Linked DNA regions of Homo sapiens: region 1 is linked to region 2. Evidence: promoter capture Hi-C in 16 types of primary human blood cells and fetal thymus (Javierre and others, 2016). All regions are on one chromosome and are shown on one strand. The core of a region is centred on a gene start or on the middle of the fragment in contact, and the rest is flanking DNA. Distances in the headings are between cores, read along the strand shown.

The links. Contacts are between HindIII fragments. The CHiCAGO score rates a contact against its expected background, and 5 or more counts as called.
Region 1: the fragment with the promoter of GZMA here is called in contact with a fragment that was not itself captured in region 2 in 4 of 17 cell types (total CD8 T cells, total CD4 T cells, naive CD4 T cells and 1 more); the score reaches 7.2 in total CD8 T cells.

The regions. Positions count from the first base shown.
Region 1 is chr5:55,100,942-55,105,286 of GRCh38, reverse strand. It overlaps GZMA (granzyme A), which reads right to left and starts at 2,641. Exons shown (of 5, transcript NM_006144.4): 1 at 2,535-2,641. The coding sequence starts at 2,604. The HindIII fragment of the contact is 5,521 bases long and covers 1-4,161 here.
Region 2 is chr5:54,962,036-54,966,736 of GRCh38, reverse strand. No RefSeq gene overlaps it. Among named protein-coding and RNA genes, the nearest start is that of ESM1, 21 kb to the left of the region's middle. RefSeq lists a silencer at 602-896. The HindIII fragment of the contact is 1,747 bases long and covers 1,563-3,309 here.

The DNA of each region.
Region 1 (4,345 bases), core at 1,392-3,891, 140 kb before region 2:
GGGTCCTGTTTTTCCACCCACAGAAGCGAGGCCATTGACTGTTCCAGGATCATTAGGCTGGATGTCACAAACCAGCAACCTCAGGCCCCAGGGCAGAAAGCTCTGCCTTGGTCTTTACCATCAACAGTTGCTGCAGGAAATGCCAGTGGTAGTGACAACCTCAAGTGCTCCCACCCTTTTTGGCTAACTATTAATTTGGGGGAAATAGATAAGACTTTTAGAAGCCTCATAACTTCCCTTTTAACCCCAAGCCATTGCAAAAATATAGCTTATGAACCGATATTAGCATCGTTTAGCTGTGACCCTACCCCTCAGTCCTTTGGTCATTATGAGACTTTTGGTTATTAAACTGCACTGTTCTCACTCATAAGTTAAGAAAATAACATCGATTGCACCTCCCCTTCAATCTCTAGACCAAACCATGGGGTTTAATCTAAGGTCTTTTCCAATGAGATAGGGAAGAGAAGAGAGAAGATACCATATGCCAAGAATTCTGCCTAAGTGACATTTCCTTGATGATAGTCTTGAAGTAGAGACCCATTGTTAAGGAACAGTGAGAACTAAACACAAGGCAAACCATACATGCAGATAGAGAGAACCTTATGTCTTAGTGATACACTCCGAGTGCTCCACCTCCTGCACCAGATGTTCTTGGATTCTCCCAAAATAGTTTTGCTGAGACTCATGGTTTCTTGAATAGGGCACAGTGCCTCTTGTTCCATAATTAGGACTAAGTCATTGCCAAATTCACAGGCAAGTATTAATGACAGCTATAGAAGCCTTTCGTAAGATTTGATGAGGGTAAGAGCAAGGAGGAGAGTGACCACATGAAATGTGGCTAGTGTGATTTGAAAAAGCAGAGGTCTCTGCTTTTAAAAAGGAAACTGGGAGGAAGAAATTCTAGGCTCTAGAAACAAAAGGGTAAAGAGCTTATAGAAACAAAAGACCTTCACCCAATCCCAATTTTCCTAGGGTGATTCATGTACAGATAGATTTCAACTGTGCCTTGCTTTGCTGTCTGTTCCTTATATGGGCCCACACTGCCCTCTCTGAACACAGGAAACAAAGAGGAGCACAGCAGGTTGCTTTTGTTGTTTTCCTTTGAAGAAAAGATATGGCTGGATTTATCTGCCCTGTGTTTTTCTGTTATGGAGGATTTAACATGCCTGAATATAGTCATACTATGCCCTGCTTATAACATAGCCAACCTTTGTCCCAAATGTCCTGCAGCCTTGTTATTTTTATATTTCTTCTCTCTCTCTCTCTTTTTTGTTTTTTTTTTGAGACAGAGTCTCGCTCTGTCACCAGGCTGGAGTGCAGTGGCACGATCTTAGCTCACTGCAGCCTCCAACTCTCTGGTTCAAGCGATTCTCCTGCCTCAGCCTCCTGCGTAGCTGGGATTACAGGCACGTGCCACCATACCCAGCTAATTTTTGTTTTTTTAGTGGAGACAAGGTTTCACCATGTTGGCCAAGATGGTCTCCATCTCTTGACCTTGTGAAACACCCACCTCAGCCTCCCAAAGTCTTCTCATATTTAGGTGCATAAACCAGATATGCACCTAAATATGATAAACCAGAGTTCTTTGGGAATTCCTGGCAAGGCAGGTTATTACATAAGTCCCTGCCTCCAAAAGCTGATGAATCCTGGGAAAAACCGTGGCTGGCTCCATATTGCCACAGCTTGAGAGTAGTCCTCACTTCCTAGCAGGTTCTTCAAGGGAAATCTAGAGCTCCCCAAGAGCTGTCACCCTTTCAGTGGTAATACCATGAATTATACAGCATTTTAACCCATGCATGCTCAACTCACACAAAAGCAGAAATATTGGTTACCATTTGGTAGACAAAAAATTAGCTTAATAAAAAATACTATAGCACACCCAAAGGGTTAATGAGGGAACTGGCCTCACGCCTTAATTTATTGCCAAAGAGTCTCTAGACCAGAGAAATAAGTATAAAAATTCTAATAATTCCTGATTCACTTTTGGTGTCTAGGTCAGATTTGTCTTAATTGTCTTTATCTATGCATTTTCTGCAGCAGGAAAGGCTGAGCTGACTAAGTTGCCACTATTCCTTTCCTGGAAGGTACTATTTGTTTTACGAACAAGAGAGTTTTGTTAACTCATTTTTACATTGTCCTTTTTGGCAATTTTCAAGTTACAAATTGGCAGCAATAAGCATTGGTGGTTCTGCTATCTTTTGCAAAATAATTATGAGAAGAAAAGATTTTTTTTTCTAAAATACAGACATATTTAAAATCCAAGAAAGAATGCTATTTAAAAAAAAAAAATAGAGACAGGGTCTCACTATGTCGCCCAGCCTGGACTCAAACTCCTGCGCTCAAGTGATCCTTCCACCTCAGCGTTCCTAGTAGCTGGGACTACAGGCATGTGCCATTGTGCCTGGCTAAACATTATAAGGCTTGGGGGAAAACATCTTCTTTCAGTATAGGAAGGTAATATTGCCAAAAGTTCATTGAAAGTCTGCTCCATTTTGCTTCATGGTCATAATGGAAATGAGAAGAATCAGTCTTACCTTCAGGAATTAGCAGGAGAGAAACGACAACTGAGAGAGAGGATGCCAGAAATCTATAGGAGTTCCTCATTGTGGCTGCTGTCCCACATCAATCAACCTGAAAATCTGTTTTCAGTTCTTAACTGCCTCTATCTATATACTGAGAGTAAAAAGGATGTGGTTTCCTTTCATTTTTTTTTTCAAGTTTCAAAGTTTAGCATTAGGAAACCAAATCCAAATAAGTGAGAATGGTGGATGATGGCTCACTGCCAGCAGGCAGGCTTTCCTTTGCTAGGACTGCTGAGGGGGGCGCTGGAATTCTACAGGGTAGGAGAGGGGCAAGGGACCTTGTTGCCATCAGAGTACACCAGGGAAGACTGTAAAGTGTCTCAGCTATGATTTTGAAGACGCTTTCATCATCTGCAATATTATCTGTAGTATCCATGACTGGAAACTCTCGAAGACTTAAATTAGAATTTTAATAAAAGTCCTCAAAATTGGTCACCAATCAAAATTCTTTCTAGCTGTCTCCTTGGGTTATATAAGAATTAGCAGGCCAAGTGCAAGCTGAGGACAGGAGGGAGATTTATTTACATAGAGGCTCCTGCCTGGATTTTCCTTCCCCACTTTGTGGTGAGTGTTTATTGTGCTCCTGCCTGGTCTGTGGCAGGTGTGGGAACATGGGCTGGAGGAGGGTAGGGGCTCTTGGCCCTTTTCAGCCCTCTGATTGTGCGTTCCTGATTGTCTAGTTTCACAACTTTAGATACTGAAAGTATCTCCGAGTTTCCCTCCCTCCCCGCCCCCCCCCGACCCCTGCTTCCTGCCTTTCTTCCTTACTTTCTTCTGAACAGGTTTAGGTGAGAAAAGAAGTGGGAGTCATTTTTGTTCCAATGTTGGGGAATGTCTCACTCTAAGAAGAGTCAACCTCAGTCCCTGGAGGAACAGTATGCAGTGTGCTTTCTATTTGAAATGAGTTCAGCTCTTTTTCTGAGCTGAGGATGTGGTCTCCGATACAATATACATGGTCAGATGTGCTGTCAGGATGTTGGGTACTGAACCAACCATCCCCATAGTTAACATCCTGATGACTTCAAACCTAGTGGTTACTTCTTTAGAAATCAAGTGACCTTAGAAGGGAGCCCTGCTGAGACCCCTGCATTTCTTTTTCTCAGATATTACAAGTGTATCAAAGGTTAATCATTTTCAGTAACAGCAGTGAGGACCCTGCTATTGGTTTTGGTGAGTAATTTTAGTGCAGACTTAAAAAAGTCAAATTGTAATTAACTACACCTACTGAAAAATTCTTAAAACATTGACAATTTTGTTTATTTTTATGTGAATGGTTGCTCTTCCATTTATGTTGACTTCTAACAACTTTATGAGACATAATTCACACACCATAAAGGTCACCCATTTAGAGTGTATGAGTCAATGGATTTTAGTATATTTGCATAGTTGTGCAGCCATTACCAGTACCATGCTGTTTTGGTTACTGTAGCCTTGTAGTATAGTTTGAAGTCAGGTAGCATGATGCTTCCAGCTTTGTTCTTTTGGCTTAGGATTGTCTTGGCAATGTGGGCTCTTGTTTGGTTCCATATGAACTTTAAAGTAGTTTTTTCCAATTCTGTGAAGAAAGTCATTGGAAGCTTGATGGGGATGGCATTGAATCCATAAATAACTTTGGGCAGTATGGCCATTGTCATGATATTGATTCTTCCTATCCATGAGCATGGAATGTTTTTCCATTTGTTTGTGTCTTCTTTTATTTCGTTGAGCAGTGGTTTGTAGCTCTCATTGAAGAGGTCCTTCACATCCCTTGTAAGTTGGATTCC
Region 2 (4,701 bases), core at 1,187-3,686:
CTTTATTATGGAATGGGCTTTGTATAGATGATTTTGCTCTAATGTAAGTGTTGTGAGCACATTTAAGGTAGGCCAGGCTAAGCTGTGATGTCCAGCAGGTTAGATGCACCAAATGCATTTTCAACTTATGATATTTTCAACTTACAATGGGTTTACTGCGGTGTAACCCCACCATATGTAGAGGAGAATTTGTGTTTCCATCTTTGTGGGTTGGTAGCAGTTACAGAGACTGTCCTGGTATGTCAAGGTTGTAATTCTGAAATTCTGGAATCTCAGGATGAGTGAGAATGTTTAGACCTGCCTTAGCTTGATGGGTGAAAATTCAGATGGAAAAACAGGGTCAGAATTTTCACTTCTCCCAGAGGCTGTTTTCTTGTCCTTGAGTGTGGACTCAGCTGCCCTCATTTAGTCTTTTATGTGTTTTGAAGTAAGGAGAGAAAAGGTACGAGAAAGAGTCCGTTTCCTGGGGAGGAATTGGGCCCGGCATCGGGGTAAATCTTCTCAGACACATTGTTTACTGACCAGGAAGTTGGAATGTGTGTGGCTTTGGGATTTCTTTGTAGGGGGCGTTTTGTTTGTGAGTTTTGGAATGATGCACCTTGGGTATGATGAAGAGGACTTCACTCTATGCTGTGGGAAAAGTTTTGCCCTTAATGTCTTGAAAACATGAGCTTGTTTTTCTGAAAAAGCTGAGTACATCCTCATTCCTCATTGTCACAAACAATGTGACATGGACCTGGAGGCAGGCCAAGGTTTTCTATGAATAGAACTTAGCAAAGAGAGTGTTAGAAAGACTTTGGATTCACATGGCAATCCTGGATGCCTGATCCCTAGAGAGGAAATGATCTACCTGCCCTTCGAAGGTGGAAACTTCGAGGATCCCCTCTCATCCTCTTACAAGCCATGGCAACCACTGTGTTATGGCTGGCATAACATGCCTTCCACATGGCTGAGATGATGTTGGCTTTGCTGGGAAGCATTTGCTTTTGAGCTGTTTTTGCAGAACTAAGATGGATTTTGAAGGAGAGAATACATGTTAGAGAAAAGCTGGGGCACAGTTGATGGTGCGGAGCAGGGCAGTGCCATCTGGTTGGTCCTTCATCGTGCTGTGCAAATGCCATGCTTTTGTCTAGGCTTGTGTGATGGCAAGAAACAGAAAGCCAGTCAGAGGGGCCAAAGTTAAAAAAAGAAAAGTGGGTCGATGGGTAGTTTTGAGGATACAGAAAGCTTATGAAGTATGGCTGGTCCTATGGGAACTGGAGAAGTGACAACTCCTGTCTCTCCCTCTGTGGCCCAATGACCATATGACTGTTAGCTTCTTTATGCCAGGCCCACTCTCCTTTCTGTCCACTGGGCTTTTCTGCTTAACCATAATCTTAATAACAATAATCACATAATACCTATAATAATAGCTAACACTTACTATTAAATCTGCACAAGCTCTGTTCTAATGCTTCACATGTATTTGTGTGTTTAGTCCTCACAACAACCCCATTGAGGCAGGTACTATTTTTATACCCTTCTCAGATGAGTACAATGAAGCATGTGGAGGTAGAGAAGCTTACCCAGGATCATGTAGTTAGCGTGTGGCAGAGTTGGGTCTCAGACCCAGGCAATTTGGCTCTGTTTTGGTTTCCCATTACCTTAGCTTGGACAGGTGTTGCCTTGTTTCAGCAGTAATTTCTTTCTCAACTCCATATAACCTTTATATTTCTAGACTTCCTGCACATTGTTTGACTAAAGGATGACCACTGAGTATATCACTATAAATTTTTGAGAGAAAAATTCTACTTGGTAGCAGGTCAACTAATTCATCTTTCAAAAAAAATTCATCTATTGCAGCTCTTTCACTGTGTATTCCAGTTATTTTTTGGTGCTATGGCAACAGAAACCCAGTATAAAAACCATTTGATATGGTTAGGTTCTCTGTCCCCACCCAAATCTCATCTTGAATTGTAATTCCCAGGTGTTGAGGGAGAAACCTGGTGGGAGGTGATTGGATCATGGGGTAGTTCCCCCCATGCTTTTCTCATGATAGTGAGTGAGTTCCCATGAGAGCTGATGGTTTTATAAGTGTTTGGTAGTTCTTGTCTTGATTGCTTCTATTTCCTGCCACCCTGTGAAGAGGTGCCTTCTGGTGTGATTGTTAAGTTTCCTGAGACCTTCCCAGCCATGTGGAACTGTGAGTCAATTAAACCTCCTTTCTTTATAATTACCCAGTCTCAGGCAGTTCTTTATGGTGGTGTGAGAATGAATTAATACACCACTTAAGTTTTAAAAAAGGAATGTATTGGCTCACATTACTAAAATAGGTACAGCTGGCTTCAGCTTTGGCTGAATCCACAGGCTTCACTTACCTTGTCTGATTCCCCATCTCTCAGGAGAAAGTGGGTCTACTCTGGTGACTGTAGAACTTTCTCAATAGCTACAGCAGAAAAGTCCTAGAAAGTACTCTGGTGGGATAGTCTGAGTGACTAGGCCAGGACTGGGAGTGGGGATGAAGAATTGTCCATGGGAAAGAAGAGTTTAGATTCCAAAGAAACATGGAAAGAGTGATAGAATGAAGCATGGCAGAGACAATACCTGTTAATTCCAGAGCTCCCACTGTGACACAATCAGCTGTACCCGGGTATGAGGTAGGGCACAGTTCACATGGTACCAAATAAATTTAGGACAAGAAGGGCTATAGCCAGGAGGAAAAGTCGACCATAAGGGGGTATGGGTGGGGCAAATGTGTGAAAACATGCCTATCACAGCTGGCATGGATGTATCCAAATAGGTGAGTGCTGGGAAGTACATTGTGGCACCTGACCTTAGGAGGAAGAAATACATAGTTACTAAGAGGCAGAAATCTGGTCTGTGTTGCACGACTAACTAGGGGTGTGACATTGGGCAAGCAGCTCAATCTTTTTGGGCCTCACTTTGGTTATCTGTAAAATGAGGGGCGTGGTTAATTGACCTCAGAGGACCCCTTCAGTTACAAAACTCTATTATTCTATCATGTAGGTCTTGAATTATACTTCGTTCCTCTGAGCTACAGTGATCATCTCATTATTCTGATTGAAAGGCTGAGTCCAGGGAGGACTTGCGGGGTGGGGTGGACTCATGAGCATATCATGTAGTTGGCTTCACATGTAGCACAATTTGAGGACAACACAATCGTCACCTGTCCTTAAAATTTCTCCCTCTGTCTATCACAGTGCCTGAAGCCCCAGCATTGATACATTTTTAGGTTTTGAGTCACTGATCCAAGTTATTTCCCACTACACTTGTCTAGCTCTCTCTGATCTCACTGGCTTTAGTGAAGCTTGTTCTTTTGCTTATATTATCCTGACCCTGATCCATTGCTGAGTTCACTCTTAGCCATTCTTTAAATTTCAGTTCAGTTCTTCATTTTTAAAGGAACTGTTCCATGGTCTCTGGGACTCAGCTAAACCCCTCTCTGTTATGCTCTCCAAGCACCACGTTGCTTTTCTGCAGGCATCTATGAGAGATGCTATTATTTATCAATTGCTCACGCACTAGGTCTTCTCATAAGAGCATTAGCTCCAGGAAGATAGAAACTGCATCTGTTTTTGTTGACTGCTTGTCTCTAGGAAGTGGCACAGTACTTGGCATATAGTAGAGACTCAATAAATATTCATTTAATTTTTAGTTTTAAGGTGGCTTAAACACTATGGAATTTAGTTTTAAGGTAGTTTAAACATCAGGGAAAAAATTTTATATAGGAATGTTTCCCTTCTGTGGGTTTTTCCTCAACTTAGATTTCACAAGTGTGGTCTATGATTGGCTAAGAGCAATGATAGGTGATTGAAGAAGTTTCCAGAACTCACTCCCTTCCACTTAATCAAGAGCCAGCAGATGTGATCAGGCTTTTCTTCCTTGAGTTTCACTCCCTTCCTTACACACACACACACATACACACACACACACACATATTGGTTTACAGCCACAGTTCCTGGCTCATTACTCCCATAGCCCTTGTTCCAGTCTTTCGTTACACTGTTAGGTGTGTGAGGTCTCAGGGGCAGCCCTGGACCTTCTCCTGCCCTCCTTTCACCTTGCCTAAGGCAGGACTCTAATGTTCCCTGCCTTTCTGATTGTGGGCCTTAAGCCCCTCCCAAGAGAGGGTCCTTCCTTATACCTCAGGGGAAGGAATGCTGATGTCATGAAGCCTTCTTAAAAACCCAAGAGGACCAGGGTTCAGTGAGCTTCCAGATAGCTGAACATGTGGAGGTTCTTGAACCCAGGGCACCAGGTAGGCTCCATACCCCTTTCCCCATACCTTGCCCTACATGTGTCTTCATCTGTATCCCTTGTAATCCCCTTTATAATAAAGTGGTAAGTGTAAGTAATTATTTCCTTGAGTTCTGTGAATCCTTTCAGCCAATTAATCGAACTCCAAGAAGGAGTTTTGGGAACCTCAACTTGAAGCCAGTTTGTCAGAAGTTTCAGAGGCCCAGACTTGCGACTGGTGTCTGGGGGGTGTGGGGAGCAATGTTGGGGACTGAGCCCCCAACAGGCCAGATCTGACACTATCTCTGGGTAGGTAGCATCAGAACTGAATTGGAGGACACCCAGCTGGAGTCTGCTGCTTGGTGTGTAGGGAAAAACTCCACACATTCTGTGTTGGGAAGTCTTCTGTGTTGATGATTGTTGTTGTGGTGGTGTCAGAGTAGAGGGAAAATGCAGTTAGAAAGA